4 separate regions of the Homo sapiens genome follow, and all the other regions are linked to region 2. The links are contacts of gene promoters, found by promoter capture Hi-C in blood cells and fetal thymus (Javierre and others, 2016). All regions are on one chromosome and are shown on one strand. The core of a region is centred on a gene start or on the middle of the fragment in contact, and the rest is flanking DNA. Distances in the headings are between cores, read along the strand shown.

Region 1 (2,946 bases), core at 88-2,587, 570 kb after region 2:
ATGTAAAATTGTGTCTCCTTTTAGTCATAATTTGTATTTCCCTGCAACAGAGTTTGAAATTGTTTCTTAAGCTTGTTGACCCTTCACGTTTCCATTTCTGTGAAACATTTGTTTGTCTTTTGCCCATTTTAAAATCGGGTTATTTGAGTTTTTCTTATTGAATTAAAGTTCTTTATATATTTGGATATAAATTATTTTTAATTACAAGCATTACCAATATTTTCTCCCAGTTTATGGCTTGCCTTTTCACTTTCTTTATAGTATCTCTTTAAACAGAAATTTTAAATTGTAATGAAGTTGAATTTATCAGTCTTTTCTATTGTAATCAGAAGTTTTAATCTTGTTTTTTTAAAAATACAGGTCTACCCCAAATTTATAAATATACTCTCTTATATAATACGTTCTTTTAAGGGTTCAGAAGCTTTGTCTTTCACATTTAAGATGCAAATGGAATTAATTTTTGTGTTCATGGTATGAAATAGGGCTCCAATTTAATTTTTTCCATATGGGTAAACAGTTATCCTAGAAGAGCATTTATTTAGACTGAAAATAGTCACATATATTGCTATTAGAGAAACGTATGCAATATAACAAAATATATGGCATTTAGAAAACATAAAATATAATACTTACAGTAATTAGTATATATACAAATTTTAAAGAAAAGATATTGGAAGGGCATACACCAAAATGAAAACAGTGATTATCTTTGGCTGGTGAGGTTGCCAATGATTTCATTTGTTTATTTTGTTCTTCTGTATATTTTCCAAATTCTCTATATAGAGTATACATTGATGTATTTTTCTAAATACTGGGAAATAAGGTAGTGTCTATGGGTGATAATGTGGTGTCAATGTAATTTAAAAAGAAACTATTAGTTGAAAGAGGAGCCATGAATTCAAATCTTCAAGCTTAACTTCTTTTTAAAAGCTTCTTCCGTTTCTGAGGCAAAAAAAAAGTATTGGTGGATTATGCAGTAAGTCTCAGTAGAAGGCATTAAGAGAGTTAAGTTCTGAAACCTGCGTAATTTTTCTATACATAGTTATAAAATTTTTTTCTCCCCTGAGTTGTTTGCTTTACAGGTATGTAAGCCTCTTTGGAAAATAGGATTGGGGCACTTATGTATATCATTGGAGATCTAATCATTTACTTTTGCCCAACAGCAGATAATGAAAAGACTTATAAAGCGGTATGTTTTGAAAGCACAAGTAGACAAAGAAAATGATGAAGTTAATGAAGGTAAGCATCTCCAACTTAAAAAATATCCTTTTATAGCTAACTTAATGAACCTGGAAAACTTAATGTTGAGGCATATTTTAAAAATCCAATCCCAGGTTATAGTTTGGATGCCTCTAAGATGGGAGGAGGATCTTATGTTACGTTTCTAAAACTTCATCTTTTAAAATAAACAGTTATTTACAATATTGATCAGAGGCAATTTATCTCTACTCATAGTGCCCTAACTGATTCTTAGAATGTAAAGACTGACATCTTTCTAGGAGTTTTTTAATCCTTCTGACATAAGGTAGTCAGTAAGTATTGGTTACATTTTCAATGAGTTCACATTAGTGTTAACATTTTTCCAGTTAAGCAGATAAAAGAACAGTGACTCAAACAGAATTCATGTCTTCAGGAAAACCTCTGTTTTATTGTTCAGAAACACATTTTTAACCTGTTTTTCTTGTCTGGTGCGTCTCTTTTGAATTTCACTTTCCCCCCTGCCTCCTTACTTTAAGCAAGCTTATTTTTTTAAGGCATATTTGAGGCAGGGCATCTCTCTGGACTATAAAAATTTTTTACCAAAGTCTAGGATGTAGAGCTAAACACAGGCCCAGAGTTGGAAAGAAATCAACCAGGGAGAAATAAGTTGCCCTAAAAATGGAAACTGTACCTTCCAACACCAATGAGATGCCACTAAATCTATCTACACTGATAAAAGAGGAAAGGACTAAACTTAATAAAATTGTTCATAGGCTTTGAAGCCATTACTTGATTAATACAAGGAATGCATTTTAAATGTAAATCAATCCAATAGTGTATGTATGTAGAAGAGAAACCTGTGAATTTATAATCGATAACTAGCAAAAATCTAATCATGGTGACCTAATCAATCTGTCTCAGGAGAAAGGATTGGAATGAGGTTGTAGTTTAGAAAGCAGAAGTCTGATGAGTTGTACCGTAATCTCCATGGGGGGTGGAGAGGGAGGAACAAAGTGGGAAGAACTGTATGGCTAAAACGGCATAAAAAACAAGAAGCATTTCCCAAGCCCTTGCACAAAAGGGGAAAATCAATGAGAATTTGGAGTTTTGAACAAAGTTCTTACTAAGAAAATGTGTCATATAATCTCCTCATTTAATTAATGAGGAAACTAAAATCTGAAGAGTTTGAGTAACTTGTGTTTCCTGAATTGGCAGATTAAATATTTAATACAACACATAGGTTGTAGTCTCCCCATGAGTCGGGGACAAGGAAGAAAGGATAGTAGAAGGTGAAGTAGGGCAGGGGGTCTCCTGCGGTACTGAATGGTGTGAGAATCCACTCCTTCCACTGAAGTCTGCCTCATGATTTCAAATAAGATCAGTTTATTCCTTTTATATTGCCATATGCCAAAGGAAGCACTTTTTTTTTTTTTTGCCACAAAAGGGCTCCTCAAATGTTTTGTGTGTATTCCTGAGTTAGAATTCTTTTCAAATAAAAATGCTCTGACTTTTATATAATAGAAGAATATTGAAATTATACTTTAAAGCATATTAAAGATACCAGGAAATATCATCAAAGGTGTGTTTTAAATGCCATTTTATTATAAAAACCTAAGTCAATGGTTTGAAGAATCATTTCTTAGATTCAAGGTAAATTCTTGCTCCAACATTCACTTTTGAAGGTCAGTGGTTTATCTACATTACGGTCACTTGCAAGAGAATCCAGTGTTTCTTTTCTTTTCTTTT
Region 2 (2,980 bases), core at 465-2,964:
TTCTTCCATTCTGGAAGGGTAAAGGCCTGAGTGATGATGCTGGGATTAGACACTGAAACTCTTTAGAGAAGCAAAACAAGTATAATAAAGCTGTACTTTATTATATTAAATAAATAACACACAGACTACCAAATAGCCTGCCCCTTATAACAGCGTTAATGTGATTTTGATCTGAAATGTATAGAGACATTTTGCATTTTTTCGTATAAAAAGTTCATGAGATTTGGCCCTAATCTGACCTTTTCTTCATTTTTTTTTCTACTTGAGGGACTATAATCTTTATTTTTAAATTTGTTTTATATTCTCCGAACATTACCTAACGCATAGAAAACTCTTATTGAACCATTTTTCTCTGTTCTTTGTAAAATATTACATTTGACTGTTCCTTAGACTGCTTTAATCATTCCTGCCTATGCACCCTCCTCAAAATCCAGTTTAAATTAATTGTTCCTTATTCAAGATTCCTTATATCCACCTCCCTTGGGGCAGCAATCACCTATCACCCAGGACTACACTTGTGTATGTACATATCTTCCCTATTACAAATCAGGTTCTTTGAAAAAATACAAATGGTAAGAGAGTGGATTTTTGGAGTCAGAACATTCTCTTTTCAAATCCTTCTTCTGCCCCTTACTGGCAATAAGGGCTGAGTGACCTAGAGCAAATTACTTAACTTCTCTGAGCCTCAGTTTTCTAATCTGCAAAATAGGAGCCATCACTTCACAAGTCTGTAAGACTTATATTAGACTAAGTGCCTGCCTGTACACTGTTCTCTTTTCTCTCTTTCTATATACCTGAAGGCATTATAGGTGCTAGATGTCTGTTTAAAGACCAGACAATATTGTCTTAAAAAAACAAACAAAAACACAGACAATACCATCTTTAAAAAAAAAAAAAAAGTCCAGGTAAGAAATAAATAAGGCCATAGAATGGAAGCTTTACAAGGACTCTCTCTGAGACAGGATCTCCTCAAGTGTCCCCAGGTTAAATTAGAAGTATATATCCGTACAATTGTTCAGCCAGTTTGTGCACTGTACTGAGGATGAATGAACACCTATCCTAAATATCCTAGTCTTCTGACTAAAAACAAGATCATATTTCATAACGATTATTGTTACATTCATAGTGTCCCAGGTGATTTAGAGGATAAATAAAAATCCATTAAAGAGGTAAAGACATAAAAACGAGAAACATGGACTGGTTTACACATAACACATACAAAGTCTATTATAAAACTAGCATCAGTATCCTTGAATGCAAACCTTTTTCTGAGTATTTAACAATCGCACCCTTTAAAAAATGTACAATAGACATTAAGAGACTTAAACAGATATATAATCATTTTAAATTAAAATAGCGTTAAACAGTACCTCAAGCTCAATAAGCATTTTAAGTATTCTAATCTTAGTATTTCTCTAGCTGACATGTAAGAAGCAATCTATCTTATTGTATGCAATTAGCTCATTGTGTGGATAAAAAGGTAAAACCATTCTGAAACAGGAAACCAATACACTTCCTGTTTTATCAACAAATCTAAACATTTATTCTTTTCATCTGTTTACTCTTGCTCTTGTCCACCACAATATGCTATTCACATGTTCAGTGTAGTTTTATGACAAAGAAAATTTTCTGAGTTACTTTTGTATCCCCACCCCCTTAAAGAAAGGAGGAAAAACTGTTTCATACAGAAGGCGTTAATTGCATGAATTAGAGCTATCACCTAAGTGTGGGCTAATGTAACAAAGAGGGATTTCACCTACATCCATTCAGTCAGTCTTTGGGGGTTTAAAGAAATTCCAAAGAGTCATCAGAAGAGGAAAAATGAAGGTAATGTTTTTTCAGACAGGTAAAGTCTTTGAAAATATGTGTAATATGTAAAACATTTTGACACCCCCATAATATTTTTCCAGAATTAACAGTATAAATTGCATCTCTTGTTCAAGAGTTCCCTATCACTCTCTTTAATCACTACTCACAGTAACCTCAACTCCTGCCACAATGTACAGGATGCAACTCCTGTCTTGCATTGCACTAAGTCTTGCACTTGTCACAAACAGTGCACCTACTTCAAGTTCTACAAAGAAAACACAGCTACAACTGGAGCATTTACTGCTGGATTTACAGATGATTTTGAATGGAATTAATGTAAGTATATTTCCTTTCTTACTAAAATTATTACATTTAGTAATCTAGCTGGAGATCATTTCTTAATAACAATGCATTATACTTTCTTAGAATTACAAGAATCCCAAACTCACCAGGATGCTCACATTTAAGTTTTACATGCCCAAGAAGGTAAGTACAATATTTTATGTTCAATTTCTGTTTTAATAAAATTCAAAGTAATATGAAAATTTGCACAGATGGGACTAATAGCAGCTCATCTGAGGTAAAGAGTAACTTTAATTTGTTTTTTTGAAAACCCAAGTTTGATAATGAAGCCTCTATTAAAACAGTTTTACCTATATTTTTAATATATATTTGTGTGTTGGTGGGGGTGGGAAGAAAACATAAAAATAATATTCTCACTTTATCGATAAGACAATTCTAAACAAAAATGTTCATTTATGGTTTCATTTAAAAATGTAAAACTCTAAAATATTTGATTATGTCATTTTAGTATGTAAAATACCAAAATCTATTTCCAAGGAGCCCACTTTTAAAAATCTTTTCTTGTTTTAGGAAAGGTTTCTAAGTGAGAGGCAGCATAACACTAATAGCACAGAGTCTGGGGCCAGATATCTGAAGTGAAATCTCAGCTCTGCCATGTCCTAGCTTTCATGATCTTTGGCAAATTACCTACTCTGTTTGTGATTCAGTTTCATGTCTACTTAAATGAATAACTGTATATACTTAATATGGCTTTGTGAGAATTAGTAAGTAAATGTAAAGCACTCAGAACCGTGTCTGGCATAAGGTAAATACCATACAAGCATTAGCTATTATTAGTAGTATTAAAGATAAAATTTTCACTGAGAAA
Region 3 (3,229 bases), core at 600-3,099, 520 kb after region 2:
GGCTGGTTAGCACAGTCACTTTCTTCAATGTGGTGAACTGCTCCATCCAAACATTTTGGATGTCATTCTCATTAACTCAACTCACATTGATGGTGTTCTTACTTTGCTTGCTTGCTACATGGGTTGAATAGTTGGTTAATCTTTACCTCATTCAATAAAGGATTTGAGGTGACTTCCGTAATAATGCTCATGTATTGCAGTGTGCTAAGGAGCTTGTGATTCAACCCAAACACCCATGTTAGAAGCTGTTCTTTGTAGAACCAAAATGTTCTGACACATAAGCTCAGCATGCATTTTAATAGTGATACTTGGATTTATAACCCATTGTTCATTTTCTTATTCCCTAGCAGCATCATGATAAAGTAGCCAGGAAGACCTCTGAGCTCTAATCTTCTAGTTCTGTACTCCTCAGTGACCGTAAGGGAGGTAGCATTCTGATGAAGTCTTTAAATCTGCAGAATTAGTATCAATTGCCAAGTATTTTTGAACATATACTACATTGTATTAGGTACAGTAGAGATAATATGTCAAGAATAAAACATAAGATAAGGCACATAAAACATTTATCCTCAATTGAACTGAGGACATGATTGTCACAGGAGACAATAATCAAGGAGACAAAAATCAAGGAGATGAGGTAAAATTAAGTGTCTATATTTATGAGTAGACTACCTATATTACAAAAGCTTGGGCTGAAGTGGTCAGGAATGGCTTCAGAAAGGATCAAAAGACCCAACATTTCATACTGAACAGAATCTTGTGGGTCATATCGGCATTGCCCTGTGAAACGTGACCCTCTGTATACAGAAGTGTAATGTAAACTGGACCACTGATGGTAAGAAGGATTTGAATTGGCAAAGAGCAGAAATAACAGTGTGTTCAGAGAGGGAAACATAAGAGGAACATCCTGGAGGTAGGTGTAAAAGGGTCAAGAAATCACTCACAACTTGGATGGGCAGCAACGTGTAGCTCCTGTAATCTGCCTGCAACAAAAGTCTGTCTCCTGAGCCTCCCACTTACTGAGTAGGAGAGAAAACATTAAATGCCCAATCTGTGGTTCACATTAGTGTTTTAAATTTTGTTTTGTTTTTGCTTACTACACAGACACTCAACAAGTGAATAGTGCAATCAATAAATTAGGCAATTAAGTCAATTAAGCAATTAAGCAGTTACGTGAATTGACAAGGAGGGAAGGCTTGCTCTACATTTGGCAGGGATTTGGTCAGTTAGGACAGTGTCTCCCCACGTCTTGAGCCGGTGTGGAAGGGGCTTTTGCTTTCTGATTCTTGTCCCCCAATCTTCTAAAGGGCTCAGAGTCTCAGTGGCCTGTCTGTCTACCAGCATTCAGCACACTGCAGAAAGAGGCCGGGAGGCTGACCTCTTTTATCTTAGTTCGATACTATAAAGTAAATGTTTATTTGGATAAACTTGCTCAGGCTCTCGGGAACTACCCTTTCCCCTGCTCTTCTCTGTCACATCTGGCCCTTGGGGGAGGGGAGCTTATGTGTCCCTGGAGGGGGAAAGAGTTAGTGTCCTCTAACTCTTCTGGTCTCTGGGCACTGTTCTATGTCTACTTGAGTGCTGCTTGTCAGCAGAAGTAACTGGATCTTGGCTGACTTTCTTTTGTTAGAAACCCAGATATGCTCCCTCAAGTACTTGGTTTCAGCTCAGCTCCCACTGCTACAAATCCCAGCACCTGCAACATCTTCCATCCAGCTTACAGCACCAGCAATCTGTCCCAAGCCTTAGTGCAGGCTACCTGGCTCTCATAGCAGTGTCCACACCACAGAGGAGCTGAGGGTGGCTTGAGAAAGCTCTTTGCTTTTCCCATATCATTCCATTACTTAACCAGTACTTAAGGTACTTCCTCACCTTATTGAATCCACATCTTGACTTTTACTTCCCTTCTGTTATTTATTTGTCCTCCCAGGACAGTAAGCATCACGGCTTTGCTGTCAGAAGTGGGAGAGCTATCTTGTCTGCATAATGAGAGCACTTTATGATCAGGGTCCTTCAGGATGAATTAGAGGAATAAAGGAATTGAGAAAATCTTTTCATTAGACAGTTTCCCTTTTCTCAAATTCTGCTTGCAAAATCCTCAAAATCATTCATAAAAATACAAAAATCCCATAATTTTTTGCTTGTAAGAATCTGAACTTCTCCATGATCCTTTTCTTTTCACTCCTGTAAAATGTATCTTCTCGAACTCCCCTTGAACACACCCACCCAACTCTATACTGCACCACCCACCCTCCAGGCAGAGATGTCCTGAGTCAACCAGGGCAAAGATCCTGTATTTGAAAAGGCAAAAAAGAAGAGCACCTTAATATATTTTCAACAAATGTCCTTAATAGTACGGGAGTACCCCTTGACAGTACAGAAATGGCAGAATAATATGTTTACAGGATAGTGAAGAATGAATCTGGGGAACAAGGGAAGGAAGGTTGGCTAGGCAGGGTGGGGTGGGCTGTCACCATCCCTGAAAGTCATACAGACGAGTCTCGACTGATGAAAAGAGCAGTAGGGGTGTTACTGATGGTTTCCTGTTTTGGTTTTTTTTTTTAAAGAGAAGTGTGATATGGTGAAAACAGAGTTTATGAACAGCAAGATGCTGGGCATAGTTGTCATGTGTAAAGAGGAGAATCAGGTACAGCCTGAGGCAATGGAAAATAAGAGTCAGACAGATTCCAGGTTGAATCCCAGTTCTTCGTTATTTTACCATTTGTGTTATCTTTGGCAATTTCATTTGAGCTCAGTTTTGTTATCTATGAAACAGAGAAAATTATACCTGCTTCGTGGTATTGTTATGAGAGTTAAATATGATAGTGCATTGAAAACATTACATACATATGAGGTGCTCAGAAAAGTTTAGTTGCCTTCCTTCATGCCATCTCTGCTGGGAAGCTGTTACAACAACCCAGCTATGACTTGATAAAGATCTGGAGGCTGGTGCTGGCAATGAGAATTGGAAGGAAGCATTCAGTACAAGAAACATTCCAAAGCAGAAGCTTTAGAACTTTGTGACTGACATGATCAAAACAGTGAGTCATAGATGACCTTGAAATTTCTAAACCTGAATAATCAGCCTGAGATACAAATGTTAGGAGTGGGAGCTGCTTTAAGGAAGAAGGTGAGTTGGGGCATTTTAGAGTAACCAGGTGATAGACCACAGTATATGTGGGACCTGAGGTCAGGTGAGAGGATGGGATCTAGGAAGAGATTTAGAAAC
Region 4 (2,998 bases), core at 36-2,535, 540 kb after region 2:
TATCACCCCACCCACTCCTGCTGCTTCCTTTTCCCACCATCTCATTTCTAGTCTCCAAGCAAAACCACGTCTTGGGTTATAATGATGCACAAACCCTGCCCACTCTGGCACAGAGGTAGTCCACAGCCATATGCAAGCCATTGGGATTTCAAAGTAACTTTATATGTTATGGACTCCCCCACCCCCTGATAACATAATAAACTCATATTTATTCAAATCAACCCATAATTCCACCAAGGAAACCATTCTTATCTAATTGTAAGCCAATATTGGCCGCATATGAGACTCAGGAAGTCTTTTTTTTTTTTTTTTTTTTTTTGAGACGGAGTCTCGCTCTGTCGCCCAGGCTGGAGTGCAGTGGCGCGATCTCGGCTCACTGCAAGCTCCGCCTCCCGGGTTCACGCCATTCTCCTGCCTCAGCCTCCCAAGTAGCTGGGACTACAGGCGCCCGCCACTACGCCCGGCTAATTTTTTGTATTTTTAGTAGAGACGGGGTTTCACCGTTTTAGCCGGGATGGTCTCGATCTCCTGACCTCGTGATCCGCCCGCCTCGGCCTCCCAAAGTGCTGGGATTACAGGCGTGAGCCACCGCGCCCGGCCAGGAAGTCTTTTTTCTACCCTCTGCCCAAGACCTACTCCCAGCTCTGGTTCTGAGTCTATTGTCTTCTAACTGGGCTCAGGATTCCCAGAGATCTGGTCTTTCCTAGAAATCAAGGCATGAGTTCAACACAGGCCTTACAGAACTCAAGGACAGTTAATCCAGAAAATGAATATATAAAACACCAGAATAGGAGATACATGACCGTGAATTTAATGTTTATGTTGGAAAGGACTTTCTCATATAAAAGCGAAGAAATCTCCAAGCAAAAATGCAAATAATCTGGCCACATATAATTTAAAACCTCTGTATGACATCAGAAAGATTATAAACAAAAAAGTGAAGGGCATACTAGGAAAAATGTTTTTTCGATTGTATCTCACAAAAGATTGATCTTCTTAATATCCCAAGAACTCAAACAAATTTGTAAGGAAAACATCCAGGGCCCTGTAGAAAAATCAGCAAAAGATTTGAATAGGCATGTCACAGAAGAGAAAATTCAAATGGCTAACATGCATATTTAAAATTTTCAGACCTTTTAGTGATAAACGTATACTAATGTACAAATACCATTTTCCTTCTCTTAAACTAACAAAGAATAAAAATTTACAATTCTCAATGCTGATAGTAAAAGAGCAACCATCTGCCTGCATCTTTACTAACAGGGAATGGATTTTGAAGATTATTCATCCTAAAATCTGTTTTTTTTTCTTTTTTTTGAAATGGAGTCTCACTCTGTCTCCCAGGCTTGAGTGCAGTGGCGAGATCTTGGCTCACTGCAACCTCCACCTCCCAGGTTCAAGCAATTTTCCTGCCTCAGCCTCCCGAGTAGCTGGGATTACAGGCACCCATCATCCATGCCTGGCTAATTTTTTGTTTTTTTAGTAGAGACGGGGTTTTACCATGTTGGCCAGGCTGGTCTTGAACTCCTGACCTCAAGTGATCCGCCCACCTCAGCCTCTCAGAGTGCTAGGATTATAGGTGTGAGCCACTGCGTCCAGCCTAAAATCATTTTTAAGGGGTCTGTAAGGTAAATTTTAAAACTGGAAGGATAGTGAACACTATTACTATTTATAGAAATACCTATATTATTCTTTGAAAAGAGAATGGAATACACTGGAAGATGAAATTTGATTTTCTGAAAATGGGTACAAGAAAATTAAATTTTAGGCAAAAACACTAATTTTGTTTAATTAGAATAATGGACTATTTGCCCCCCACCAAAAGTCTTGAGTTCTAATTCTGACTCTACCTCTATCCTGCTCTGTGATGTGCAGCTGAACATTAATCCACTCCCCACCATAGAAATAACCAAAGTTCTACCTACTTCACCGTGAGCTATGTCTATTTTGAGAAAGTTTTTGACAAAAGATACTAGAGCTTGGTAGACCACTGAATCTGGAAAACTGGGCTCTCAGAAAGAGAAGGAGAACATTTCCTGAGTTCTTCGTTTCTGCTCTCCTATTAATATTTCCTCCATAGTAGGATTAGATTTAAATGTAGAAAAGCCATCCTAAAAAGAAACATGCAGCAGTATAAACAGGATAAAAGCATCCATTGTGTATCCACTTTCTGTGCAAAAAGTGTGCAGGGGAAGCCCAGAATTAAAGAAATGCAATGAGAGAGTGGTAAATACACCACTGAGACGTTGGAACGGGTGTGCTGGCCGGCACAGTCCTGTGTCCTGCACTGTGTGGCCTCTTGTCCTGGTCTTCCCCAGGCACCAAGAGATAACAGAGCATTTTGCACTCAGCAAGTTTGAAAATCCAGAAAACCTGTGCAATATAAGTTTTAGGTTTATATTTCACAAGTCATTGAGTTTTTAAAAGAAGTTGAATTGCCTAGTTTTTATTTACAAGAATATGTTCCTTTAAATTGTATGAATTGTGGCTCTAACAGTATCATTAAAAACAAATCCAGAGTTCCTACCATGATTTTACACAACAGTATTCCCATGAAGACAGTTCTTGTGAAGGCTGATTTGATGAAAAACAGTGTAACATGAATTAATTTTTAAGTTTAAAATTTGATTGTTTTCCCTAGCCTGCCCTGATCAGTGGTTCAGTTTATAATCTATTAGTTATTTGGCAAGAAAAAACATTTCAGTTGTTCTCAATGCTGATTGTCCAATTGAAAGATTGAGATTTTCTTGTGTCAAGCATTCTCTCTTTGAATCAGAAAACTCAAAATAAGGGTATTATTTTTGTTATGACTTCAATTTGCTGGTCCACTGAAGTTAGGAAACAGCATACAAATGTTATCCAGTTGGGCATAACTGGTGTAGTGACATAAGGAGATTTTTCAGGAGGTAAAACACTTTTCAGGTATAAAGGTCACTGCCCTATTTCGAAGTCATTGAAAAGACCAAAACTCATCTCCTAAAGGGATTAGCTTTTTTGC

Evidence for each region. Contacts are between HindIII fragments. The CHiCAGO score rates a contact against its expected background, and 5 or more counts as called.
Region 1: a contact is called between a fragment that was not itself captured here and the fragment with the promoter of IL2 in region 2, in 1 of 17 cell types (endothelial precursors). The highest score is 6.0, in endothelial precursors.
Region 3: a contact is called between a fragment that was not itself captured here and the fragment with the promoter of IL2 in region 2, in 1 of 17 cell types (endothelial precursors). The highest score is 5.9, in endothelial precursors.
Region 4: a contact is called between a fragment that was not itself captured here and the fragment with the promoter of IL2 in region 2, in 1 of 17 cell types (endothelial precursors). The highest score is 6.6, in endothelial precursors.

The regions. Positions count from the first base shown.
Region 1 is chr4:121,880,647-121,883,592 of GRCh38, reverse strand. TRPC3 (transient receptor potential cation channel subfamily C member 3) reads left to right here. Exons shown (of 12, transcript NM_001130698.2): 11 at 1,164-1,239. Among named protein-coding and RNA genes, the nearest start is that of BBS7-DT, 11 kb to the right of the region's middle. The HindIII fragment of the contact is 810 bases long and covers 933-1,742 here.
Region 2 is chr4:122,455,459-122,458,438 of GRCh38, reverse strand. It overlaps IL2 (interleukin 2), which reads left to right and starts at 1,714. Exons shown (of 4, transcript NM_000586.4): 1 at 1,714-2,145; 2 at 2,236-2,295. The coding sequence starts at 1,999. The HindIII fragment of the contact is 2,130 bases long and covers 939-2,980 here.
Region 3 is chr4:121,938,182-121,941,410 of GRCh38, reverse strand. All of the region lies in intron 1 of TRPC3 (transient receptor potential cation channel subfamily C member 3), which reads left to right. Among named protein-coding and RNA genes, the nearest start is that of TRPC3, 12 kb to the left of the region's middle. The HindIII fragment of the contact is 2,322 bases long and covers 689-3,010 here.
Region 4 is chr4:121,918,843-121,921,840 of GRCh38, reverse strand. All of the region lies in intron 3 of TRPC3 (transient receptor potential cation channel subfamily C member 3), which reads left to right. Among named protein-coding and RNA genes, the nearest start is that of TRPC3, 32 kb to the left of the region's middle. The HindIII fragment of the contact is 5,563 bases long and covers 1-2,998 here.